Regions from separate parts of the Homo sapiens genome. Here regions 1 and 3 are each linked to region 2. The links are contacts of gene promoters, found by promoter capture Hi-C in blood cells and fetal thymus (Javierre and others, 2016). All regions are on one chromosome and are shown on one strand. The core of a region is centred on a gene start or on the middle of the fragment in contact, and the rest is flanking DNA. Distances in the headings are between cores, read along the strand shown.

Region 1 (4,275 bases), core at 1,740-4,239, 900 kb after region 2:
AAAAGATGTACAGGAAGTAAAATTTATGAGCACTTGCATGCTTGAAGATGCTTACATTCCATTCTCCCACCTAATTTATATTTTGGCAGGATATAAAATTTCAATTTGGAAGTCATTTCCTCAAAATTGTAAAGGTCTTATTTAATCCTTTGTCTTTTAATTTTAAGCATTGCTCTTGATTTAAAGATGACATTCTGGGCTGGGCATGGTGGCTTACACTTGTAATCCCAGCATGTTGGTAGGCTGAGGCAGGTGGATTGCTTTAGCTCAGGAGTTTGAGGCAGCCTGCGCAAGACAGTGAAACCCCATCTCTACAAAAACAAACAAAAAAAAACAACAACAAAAACCCCAAAAACATTAGTCAGGCATGGCGGTGCATGTCTGTTGTCCCAGCTCTGTGGGAGGCTGAGGCAGCAGGATGGCTTGAGCCCAGGAGTTTGAGGCTGGAGGGAAATAAGATCACACTACTGAACTCCAGCTTGGGCAACAGAGCCAGATCCTGTCAAAAAAAAAAAAAATGACATTCTGATATTCTGATTCTTGATCTTTTATATGTGACTCTTTTAGGACCTTCTTTCCATTCTTAGCATTATGAAATTTCATTATCATTGGCCTTGGTATGGGTTTTGTTTTGTTTTTTTTTGTTTTGTTTGAGACAGAGTCTCACTCTGTTGCCCAGGCTGGAGTGCAGTGGAGTGATCTTGGCTCACTGAAACCTCCACCTCCCAGGTTCAAGTGATTCTCCTGCCTCAGCCTCCCAAGTAGCTGGGGCTACAGGCACTTGTCACCACACCAGGCTAATTTTTTTGTATTTTTAGTAGAGATGGGGTTTTGCCATGTTGGCCAGGCCGGTCTTAAACTCCTAACCTCAGGTGATCCACCCACCTCGGCCTCCCAAAGTGCTGAGATTACAGGTGTGAGCCACCATGCCAGGCCCTGGGTTGTTTTTTTTGTTCTGTTTTGTTTTGTTTTTACATGAATTGTGCTGCATACTGCATGAACCACTTCAATCTGAAGTCAAATTATTTAGTTCTGGAGAATTTTCTTATACCACTTCCTCAATAATTTTCTCTTCTCATTTTCTCTGCTTTGTGGATCTTCTATTACACTACCTTTCTCCCAATTTATTCTCTAATGTACTTGATTTTTTTCTCATTTATTTTAATATATTTATCCTTATTTTAAATATTTTAAAACTGTTTAGTTGTAGTGAAATACACACAACATTTACCATCTTAACCATTTTTAAGCGTGCAGTTCAGTAGTATTGAATACATTTTCACTATTGTATGACCAATCTCCAGAATTCTTTTCATCTTGCAAAAGTAAAACTCTATATGCATTTAAAAGCTTCTGATTCTCCCCTCCCCCCAGCCCATGAAAACCACCATTCCACTTTCTGTGCCTATAACTTTGACTATTCTGGGTACTTCACATAAGTGGAATAATAAAGTATTTCTGTTTTTGTGATTGACTTATTTCATTTGGCATAATGTTAATGTTCTCAGGTTTCACCCGTGTTTGTACGTGTGTCAAGATTTCTTCCCTGTTGAAGACTGAATGATATTCCATTGTATATGTATGTCACATTCTGTTTATCCAATCATTTGTCAATAGATATTGGGTTGCATCAACCTTTTAGATATCATGAATAACGCTGCTATGAATTTGGGTGTACACCTATCTCCTTGAGACTCTGCTTTCAATGCTTTTGGGAATATACCTAAGAGTGGAATTGCTGGATATGGTAATCATTTGAGGAACCACCACACTGTTTTCCACAGTGACCACACCATTTTACATTCTCAACAGTGCCTCTCAAATTTCTCTACATCCTTACCAACATTTATTATTTTCTATGTGTATTGTTTATGGTAGCCACCCTAATGGGCATGAAATGGTGTCTCATTGTAATTTTGGTTTGTATTCCTCTAGTGATTCATGATATTGAGAATCTTGTCATGTGCTGTTGGCCATTTGTATGTCTCCTTAGAAGGGTCTATTCAAATTATTTGCCCATTTTTTAATTGCATTGTTTGGGTTATTTTGTTGTTTTTGTTCTTTTTAGAAATTCTATATATATTCTTGTATTTTCCCTTTATCAGATATGTAATTTGCAAATATTTTCTCCCAGTTTGTAGGTTGCATTCTCACTCTGTTGATTGTATCCTTTGATGTACAGAAGTTTTCTTTTTTTTTATTTTGATGCTCAACTTACCTATTTTTTACTTTTGTTGCCTGTGCTTTTGGAGTCATATCTAAGAAATAATTGCCAAATCCAGTGTCATGAAGCTTCTCTCTATGTTTTCTTCTAGGAGTTTTGTAGTTTGTCTCTGTCTGTATCCGCTTCAGTGCCTAAAGCTTGTATTGTTTATGCCACTTATTCTATTTTTTATTTTCTAAGAGCTCTTTCTTGTTCTTTATTATTTTTGTAGAAGTTTCTTATTTGATAGATGAGTATCCTCTTATTTTTCCAATATTACCAATCTTTTAAAAATTACTCCTCATAATATTGTTTCTGTTTTCTATGAATCTTGCCACCCACAATTGTTAGCTTCTTTCTTTCATATAAGAATCTCTCCTCAATTGTTTGCCAGTACTTTGTTGTACATATATATTTAAGAAATTTAAGGCACCAAAGAGTTGCTGATTAGAAGCAGCTCAATGGCATGGCCAGAGCTTATCAACTGTTGGCTCTAACTTAGGATAATTGAGGATGAGTGAGTTTTATTTGGAGGTGGGGCTGGCTCCCAATGTGCATCTTGTTTTTTTTTTTTTCCCCTGACTCTGGTGAGTTTCTCAGTTAATGGTCCTCTAAAGTTCATCACAGGGAATGGTATATACTTGTCCATCCATGAAGGTCGAGCAGCACAGAGAAGCTGAAAGTCTCAGCACTTAGCTTGTGGACTTTCACTTAATTCCTCTGTTGTCTGTACAGTAGACTCTTCTACTTCCAGAGTATCTGTGAGTTCAGATTAAGAAACTTCTCATTTAATTTCTCCACTTGAAGCAATTTCAAGTGTGCTGTTTAGGCAAAAGAAGACTGGATGCTGAACCAGAAAGATTAGGGAGAAGAAGTGCAAATCCTTCTACAGACATTCAACCCATGTCGGTGTTTTAAGCCCATGTCTCATTCTCTCCTGCTCAGATACCTGCTAATTGCTTCTGAGGTCCTAAGGCATGGATAGGCTTTGCTTTGCACTTAGTATTTAACTATCTCTACTCTGCTATCTCTTCCATCCACTTTACATAATTTTTAAAATATTGTTGACATTACCTGTAATTAGCCTGTATGAGTTTATACCATTTTACTTTTTATATTTATTTTTGTGTTCCAGAACACAATTATTTGATATTAAATAATTAAAACAAAAGTTATACACATGAATTCAACTTAAATTCCTTGTTAAAATTTTCAGGAGCCATTTTTATAATTGAAATCAGCCTTTTTAGGTTCTGTACATTACTTTCAGTCATAATCTTATTAAGTTATCTATATTAATAGCAGATACCTTGTGCCAAGTAATATGTCTACTTAGGGATATTACTGTTTTAATTTAACTCTTGTTACAAGATTCAATCATTTAGTAAATTAACATATTCTGTGTCTTAATGTGACAAGCTTAAATACTCAGTCAATTGTTTAATTCCATTCATGTCCTTTGACATTTAAAGTTAAAAACAAATTTTTTTGGTAGGTTTTAGTAAATTTTCCCAAAAATCTATTTCTTCAAAGTTTAAAAAAACTATATTAGCTCTTTTAGTAACTTTGGTGCTTTGGATAGCTGTAATGTTTTGTTGGATTCAAAGTGTGTTTCTTTTAATTCATAGGGAAATACTGCTTCACAAGTTATACTTGGAAAAGGTAAATTAATAATTTTCCTGTGACTTTTTTCAATGTACATCAAGATACAGAGGGGCATCTCTGCTTCTTGACAGCTTCCCTTCTGGCTCTCAGCAGCCTTTCTTCAGTGTCTCCTTTGATTTGCTGAGTCTAGTCTGCTCTGGGCTTTAAAAAAAGAGATAATTTCAATTGTTAAATTGAAGCTAAAAATAAAAATGAAAGAGAATCTGATTACCCACAAATAAAGTTCATGTGTTTTAATGCTGCACCCTGTGATCGAAACACTAAAACCACTGCAAATTCCTTAGTTCCTAAATAAAAGACTTGGCCAAGAATTGAATTCAAAATTATATATATATTTTTGGATCCAGAAGTCTTTAAGAATGCTATGCCGGCCAGGTGCAGTGGCTCACGCATGTAATCTCAGCACT
Region 2 (3,917 bases), core at 24-2,523:
TGCTACTCTTTTCCTTTTGCCATGTCAACAATTGGACTGCTTTGGAAAACCTTAGTATGAGCAAATGCAAAACCTGTTAATATAATTTCCATAGGTCTCTAAAGAACAAACAGTATTGAAATTTAGCAAATGGAAATTAAAATTTAAAAAGTTTGGGATTTTGTATTAAAAGATTTTAAATTAATCTACACCGATATCAGAATGCCCATAAATAACTTCATCTTGGATCAGAGTCAACGAAGTAATCATGGAATAAAAGGTCAATTCGTTCCCAAGCATCTTTTATCTGGGACTTACAACAGGGCTCAATAAGAAAAACAAGAGAAAGGGAGAGGGAAATGGAGTACTAGGACATTGGTAAACACATACTGTTTTGCCTCTTTGCCTCTATACTCCCAAATATACCCGTTAAAAACATACTGGCAGATTACTTTGAATTCAGCACGCGCTCTATAAACCCCTTCCAAGCAAAGGAGTTCCAAGGCGCAGGTCTTGGAACAACACAAATAACCTCAGGTCTGCAAAATAAGGAAGTTCCCCTTTAATAAGGACCGAGGCTAAGGCTAAGATCCTCTCACTTCCATGAATGGCAAAGTTACCAACTTTGCTCATCCCGTGCAGACAGTGGATGATGCCTCCCCAGTCTTACTTTAAGCCATTTGTCCCCAAATAACCCAAGTTTCTAAAAACCAGACGGAACGAGAAGCTTAGGGTTCCCTAAGTTTAACTCCTCCTTCGTCCCTTCCCAATACAAAGACACACAAACTGGGGGGGACACGGAGGTCGGTGCCCTCGAGGCTTAAGTCGCCATTTGCTGACCTCAACGGCTGGCCCGGCATGCGGCCCGGCGAGGACACGAGCGCGGCGGACGCCCTCTCAGGGCGCCCGGACGGCCGACCCGGGACGCGCATGGACCGGGGTCAGCCGCCTTTCCTCTGCTCCAGGCCGGGCCCGTCAACCCCACGGCCGCCAGCGCCAGCGCCTCGGTCCCGGCCGCGGCCTCAAACTGCCCGGCCGCTGCCTTCGTCCCCGCCGCAGCGCGGACGGCGCCGGCCTCCCCTGCGGGCCTCCCGTCACTCACCGGCCGGCGCGGCCGAACCGCGGCCCAGGCCCTAGCTGCCCTGGACGCCGTGCCCAGCTGCTCCGCTCTGTCCCGGCGACGCTCCGTACCCCACACAGCCGTCCGAACCGCCTCCTCCGCCCCTCTTCCCCAGCCGGGCCGCCGCCTTTTCTCTTCTCCCGGCCTGCTCCAGAGGCAGCCACCCTCCTCGCGCGCCCCGCCCCGCTGCGCCCCGCCCACCCGGCCCGGCTTCTGCCGACAGCTGGGCGGGGACGCGCACGCAGTCCCGGCGGGGACGCGCACGCCGCCCTCTGACCCCGCAGCGTCGTGGCTAGAGTAGGGTCTGGAGAGAGCTCCCACTGTGGCGAGTCCTGTCGTTGGATTCCCGCGGCGCCCCGTAAGGCTCCGCCCCGGCGGTGCTACCAAACCCTGTTCGATTTTAGAATCGTACATTCCCAGAGGGAATCCTAGACCCCTCATTTTACAGTTGAGGAAACAGGCCCAAGTAGCATGACTTGTTCGCGCCGCTAGTCGAAGGAGCAGCAGCCCCGATCCCTTGACTCTGGGGCACTGCTTTCCCTTTAGCTCATTTTTGGAGGAAATGGGTGCGCCCTTGCTCGACCTTTGGTGATTGCCGCCACAGGCCTTCCCGCCGGCTAACTCAGCGTGCCCAAGTCCCGTGACTTAGTGCCAGGACGGTGCTGTGACCCGTTATCCCCTGTCGGGTTTTACCTCCCCCCGGGAGAGCTCAGCCCTGGATCCCGGCGGGCGGCGGAGCCTCTCTGGAGCCCGGACGGGACAGCCCACCAGGGTCTGCTTCTGTGAGGGGCCGAGGCGTCATTCCGCGAAGGTAATTAGCTGGGGAGGGGACTTGAAGCCGCTTTTGCAGTGTACCTTACATATGACTGGGGAGTAAAGAAATCCCACAGGGCTGTATCAAAGAATGGATGGATGTCCACGCCCCCGCTACCACCACCAAGCCTTGGTCTACGGCCGAGGGACAGTGATTCCGAGCTCTGGGTGTTGGGAGCCGCTCACCCGCCCCCACCCCTCTGTCGGGGACTCCTGCCCACCCCGTCGCAAGAGAATTACAACAAAGGAAAGATGGTTGTAATCCTGGCAGTGGGGATGGGGGCAGAGCCAGGAAAACACTGTTGTCATCCTTTTTGTGGCTGCATCTTTACCCCTTGCTGTTGTGCTTTGGGAAAGAGAGCTCACACATAATTTGCTATCCTACAGAGAAAGCCTGTGGGTTTTTCAGATCCGTAAATTAAACAAAACAAAACAAAAACTGAGTTAGGAACTTAGATTACAGAGTAAAGGTTGATTCCTTAAATGATTAACTTTTTGAAAAATTATCTGTTCCCCTTATTTTGCCTGATTTGGCTGTAGACAGGCTCTGGTCCTCGGTTCAGACCTTGAGAGCCACTGTCCAGAGAGCTACATGGTCAGGATGGGGAAACAGGCAGGATGGCCCAGTGGGAGAGGATGTAGGTGCTGCTACACTATAGCCCCGCTCAATGCTCACTGTCCTGGATTGAGTCACAGACCTTTGTTTTGCTTTAGCTGTCCTCTTATAAAGGATCTAAAATAGATTATCTCTAGAGCCCTTTCCAGCTTTAAAATTCTGTGAATCTCTAATTATACTTATTGAGATCTGGGGCTTTACCTTTTACTAAGTCACCTAGCTGACACTAGGTCACCCTCACTCGCCTGAAGTTGAGTCATTCAGGTTGGAAACCTCATTGTCTTCTTTGTCCCTTCATCTCAATAATTTTCCATGTCCAGACAATTATTTAAAATCCTTTTTTTCTTTCACCTTCATCCCTAGTTACTGTTAAATCAAGTTTAGCCTAAAGCAGCCTCCTTACATATTTTACGTTCAGCCTAAAGGTTTCTGTGTACACCGTGAACTATAATAAGTGGAGGAGTAAACAGACCATAGCCCACACTTCTGTCAATCATTGAGTTTGGCCAATCAAATGTAGCCAGTTGTTCGAACCTTGTTCAAATAAGGCAAACCCCAACCTGTAACCAATCCAGCTGTTTCTGTACCTCAGTTCCGTTTTCTGTATGTCGCTTTCCTTCTTCTGTCCTAAATCATCTTCCACCATGTGGCTGCGCTGGAGTCTCAAAGCCTACTCTGGCTCAGGAGGCTGCCTGATGCGTGAATTGTTCGTTGCTCAAACTCCTTTAAATTTAATTTGGCTGAAGTTTTTTTTTTTTTTTTTAACATTACTGTCTTAAACAAATTTGGATGTCTGCTGTTGCCTAACCAGTCCTTTCTCCTGCAGTATCTCCTATCTCAAATCCCCTATCAACACAATTCTTCCTAAGACACCCATTTTATCTTGTTATTTTTATATTCACCTGGCTGGGATGATGTTTTAGTATGTGTATTAGGGTTCTCTAGAGGGACAGAACTAATAGGATAGATACACATAAAAGGGAGTTTATTAAGTATTAACTCACACGATCACAAGGTCCCACAATAGGCCATCTGCAAGCTGAGGAACAAGGAGAGCCAGTTTGAGTTCCAAAACTGAAGAACTTGGAGTCTGATGTTCAAGGGCAGAAAGCATCCAGCATAGGAGAAAGATGTAGGCTGGGAGGCTAGGCCAGTCTAGCCTTTTCATGTTTTTCTGCCTGCTTTATATCCTAACTGTACTGGCAGCTGATTAGATGGTGCCCACCTAGATTAAGGGTGGGTCTGCCTTTCCCAGCCCACTGACTCAAATGTTAATCTCCTTTGGCAGCACCCTCACAGACACACCTATGATCAATACTTTACATCCTTCAAGCCAATCAAGTTGACACTCAGTATTAACTGTCACAGTCTGTTTATGCTGCTATAACA
Region 3 (4,054 bases), core at 927-3,426, 880 kb after region 2:
TTAGTGACCTTCTGAGGAGAGACACCAGAGAGTTCTCTCTCTCTCTGTCTCTTTCTGTCTGTCCAGGCACACACACAGTGGAAAGGCTACGTGAGCACACAGAGAAGGCAGCTGTTGGCAGGCAGGAAGGAGAGTCTTCATAAGAAACAAACCCTGCTGGCACCCATCCTGACTGGTCTCAGACTTCCAGTCTCCAGAAATGTGAGAAAATAGATTTCTCCTATGGTAGCCACCTAACCTGTGGTATTTTGTTACGGCAGCCCGAGCAAACAAATACGGACTTTGGTACAGAGAAGTAGGGTGCAGCTGTAACAAATATCTGAAAGTGTGGAAGTGGTTTCCACATCTTCCTTGTTCTCTTTCAAATAGGCTTTCTCATTTTTCCCAATATGGATAGGCTGAGAATTGTCCAAATCTATTTCTTTTTTCTAGCATTTTACTATAAGGAGTCAAGAGAAGCCACGCCGCACTTTCAACACTTTGCTTAGAAATTTCCTCAATCCAATATTTAATTTCACTGCTCACAAGTTCTACCTTCCGCAAAACACTGGAACACAGAAAATCAGCCAAAGTCTTTGCCTAACAAGGGTGGCTTTTCCTCCATGGCCCAATAACATGTTCCTAATTTCCATTTGAGACCTCATCAAAATGGCCTTTACTATCCATATTTCTACCAGAATTTAGTTCACAGACACGTATATATTTTCTAAGAAGATTGAGGCTTTCTCTATAGCTCTCTTCTTTCCTTTTTGGGCCCTTTCCAGAATCATCTTTAAAGGTCCGTTCATGGCAATGTAGGCTTTCTTTAGCATGTACCTCCAAACTCTTCCAGCCTTTATTACCCAGTTCCAAAGCTGCTTCCACATTTTAGGTAGTTACCATAGCAGCAATCCCACTTGCTAGCATTCATGTTCTGTCTTAGCCTGTTTGGGCTGCTATAACAAAATACCATAGACTTGTGGCTTGTAAATAACAAAAAATTTATCTCTCATACTTCTAGAGGCTGGGAAGTCCAAGAACTGCACGCCAGCAGAGTCAATTTCTGGCAAGGGTCTGCTTCCTCATGCATGGCATCTTACCACTGTGTACTCACCTAGTGGAAGGGGTGAATGAGCTCTCTGGGGTACCTTTTACAAGGACACTAATGCCATGCATGCAGGTTGAGTCACCTCCCAAAGGCCTCACCTCTTAATACCATTATTTCAGGGTTTAGGATCTCAACATATAAATTTGATGGCAGAAGTATATACACACCTTCAGACCATAGCACCTTCCTTCCCCTTCATCTAGCAAGTAGTGTGTTCTGTTGATGTGTTTTGTAAATTCATCCAGTTCTTCCCCTAAAATGAATAATATATAAAACTCCTAAAATAATACATTGCAGCTTTTTTAGCTCCCTATCTACATGAAAAATCTTCAAATATTTGACAACAATTATATATGCACCACTCCATTCTCTTATTATTAGGTTTCTAGATGTGTAAAAAAATACTGTGTAAGTTATTTTCCAGTCCCACTGGACATTTCAGTTACAAAAGCCAGTGGAATTTCTATTCTTATTAAAGCTACTATGAATTAGCCTTCTGTCACTTGGACACAAGCAGTCCTAACTGATACTGCAATATAATAGAAATGCAATGCAATGTTATCAACAGTGTCATTAATTTAGTCAAAATTTGGGCTAAATTAACCACTTGTAATATACACATTATTAATATATTAAATAATGTCTTTCCTTCTTAAGTAGAGCATACTCAAAGCCTTCCTTGCTTCCTGGATGAATCATACTTAGCATTATTACTATACTGTCTTCTAACAGAGGGACCTCAAGGACTTTGAGGAACAATGACCCTAACATTCAATGACCTGAGACTACTGGCTTTTCCGGGGCTTTGTTTCAGTGATTGGCTTAGTTGTAGTTTTAATTTTGCTTTCATAGTACTAATGATGTCTTTATCAGTTCTTAATATTGTCTGCTTCCAATAGCCTTCCCTTCTCCAAATTTGTTTGTAATTTTCTGGGTGTAATGAGTAACATCACCAAATTTTTAGAATTAGTTAACGTTGCTTTGTATATACTTATAATAAAGACATTAACAGTTAGCATATGGGCTTTGTATCTACACTGTAACAATTGGATATTTAACATAGTAACTTGGAAATCATAGGCATTAAGTAAATCATAGGTATTAAGTAAATATTAATTGAATTGATTAAAATATTAAAATATTTTGAAGCACCTAAGTTATTCAGTATTTAAAATTATGTTCTTTCCTGTATGGTAGGCACTAGGCACATGGGGCTATGTAAAATTTTTTAAGTTAATTAATATTATATAAAATTAAAAATTAATTTCCTTAGTTGCATTAGCAACATTTTAAGTTCTCAGTAGTCAAATGTTCTAAGTGAACATTTTCATCATTGCATAAGTTTCTTCTAAATATTAAAAGGAATGAACAAGTGACCTGTCCATAATTGTAGCATTTTACTATAACAGTATTATATTATTTTTAGTTTTTATTATTTTAACCCATATTACTATTCATAGATTAAAATGAAAAGCTCATTCATTCATATAATGCAACATAACTAAGTGGCATTTTCTTTGCCCTATTGAGAAGACCAGTTGAATGTAATTGTCCTAATAGTTAAAGCATTTCAACTTCAACCTTTTAAATCAATTTTATTTAATAAATAAAAATGTATGCTTTCATGACAAATATACTAAAATTTGTGTCATTGCAGTGATTATACAAAAGCAATATTTCTTAAGTTCCCTTTTATAGTAAGAAATACTTTTTTTTTTTTTTCCCGAGATGGAGTCTGCTCTGCTGCCCAGGCTAGAGTGCAGTGGAGCAATCTTGGCTCACTGCAACCTCTGCCTTCCAGGTTCAAGTGATTCTCCTGCATCAGCCTCCCAAGTAGCTGGGATTGCAGGTGTGTGCCACCACACCCGGCTAATTTTTGTATTTTTTGTAGAGATGGGGTTTCACCATGTTGGCCAGGCTGGTCTCTATCTCCTGACCTCAGGTGATCCACCCACCTTGGCCTCCCAAAGTGCTGGGATTACAGGTGTGAGCCACAGTGCCCAGCCAGAAATACTTATTTTAAGATAAATTTTGAATTGGTTGAAATAAGGCCTACTTCAAATGTTCTTTAGCATCATAAAACTTAAAAAAATAAATTAAATGAGCCCCCTTATTCCAAGGATATTTAAATAAAGTATTGAGGGGACACAGAGGATTAACTAGAAAGGGCACTGTTTTTGTGAGGAAAAATGTATTAATTAATCAATGAAAACTCTGACTGTAAAAATAAAGTGATATGAAAATATTATATGTAAAACAAAGATACTATTGAAAAATGCCCTCACTTTTCTCTTTCACATTGTTTGTTTTACTGCTTTGGTGAGATGTCAAAGCTGCTCAAATTATGTTCCTAAAAGGAGTAGACAATGTAAGAGTGCAAGCTGGTGAGAGATTAAAGGTGGTGATAAGAAACTGGGATATTGCCTGGAGACAGAAGAGAGCCAGAGAGGCTTGGTGTATTTCATATTTAGAAGTACTCTAATTTTTTTTCTTGTTTCTAGTAATTATGCTGATGGGAAAATCTGTCTGTCTTTACAGATTTGGCTACTGTTTTAGAACAACAAAAAAGCATCTTACCTACTTTAATCATTAGCACTGATGAATATTTTCGGTTATTACCAGCTAATTAAATTACAAGATTAAATGATTGTCATAGAAATGTGGAAAACTGGGTGTGTCACTCATAGGGAAAAAAAAGACTAACTAAATACAACAGCAAAGACAATGAAGAACAATGAAGAGAAAGGGGGAAGGAGGAGGAAGAGGAACCCACACTCACTAATATTTGAACATCACAATAGGGATAGAAAGAAAGACTGTAAAGCTGGGTCTGAAGTTTTTATTGAATCAGAAGTGACCATGAACTTCACAAATAGCAATAACTGGTGTATTGGGTGATATGAGTGCAGGGTATGATGGTTGCCGTTAAAATTGTGGTAATTTTTAATGCAGCAATAGGTGGCTAAT

The links. Contacts are between HindIII fragments. The CHiCAGO score rates a contact against its expected background, and 5 or more counts as called.
Region 1: a fragment that was not itself captured here is called in contact with the fragment with the promoter of FBXO30 in region 2 in 1 of 17 cell types (fetal thymus); the score reaches 5.2 in fetal thymus.
Region 3: a fragment that was not itself captured here is called in contact with the fragment with the promoter of FBXO30 in region 2 in 1 of 17 cell types (neutrophils); the score reaches 6.9 in neutrophils.

What each region holds. Positions count from the first base shown.
Region 1 is chr6:146,711,551-146,715,825 of GRCh38, forward strand. ADGB (androglobin) reads left to right here. Exons shown (of 36, transcript NM_024694.4): 14 at 3,832-3,865. Among named protein-coding and RNA genes, the nearest start is that of ADGB, 110 kb to the left of the region's middle. The HindIII fragment of the contact is 1,261 bases long and covers 2,360-3,620 here.
Region 2 is chr6:145,813,522-145,817,438 of GRCh38, forward strand. It overlaps FBXO30 (F-box protein 30), which reads right to left and starts at 1,274. Exons shown (of 3, transcript NM_032145.5): 1 at 1,082-1,274. All of the region lies in intron 1 of EPM2A-DT (EPM2A divergent transcript), which reads left to right. RefSeq lists enhancers at 683-1,237, 2,295-2,364 and a silencer at 915-1,454. The HindIII fragment of the contact is 9,786 bases long and covers 705-3,917 here.
Region 3 is chr6:146,693,283-146,697,336 of GRCh38, forward strand. The region is part of intron 12 of ADGB (androglobin); the gene reads left to right. Among named protein-coding and RNA genes, the nearest start is that of ADGB, 96 kb to the left of the region's middle. The HindIII fragment of the contact is 5,580 bases long and covers 1-4,054 here.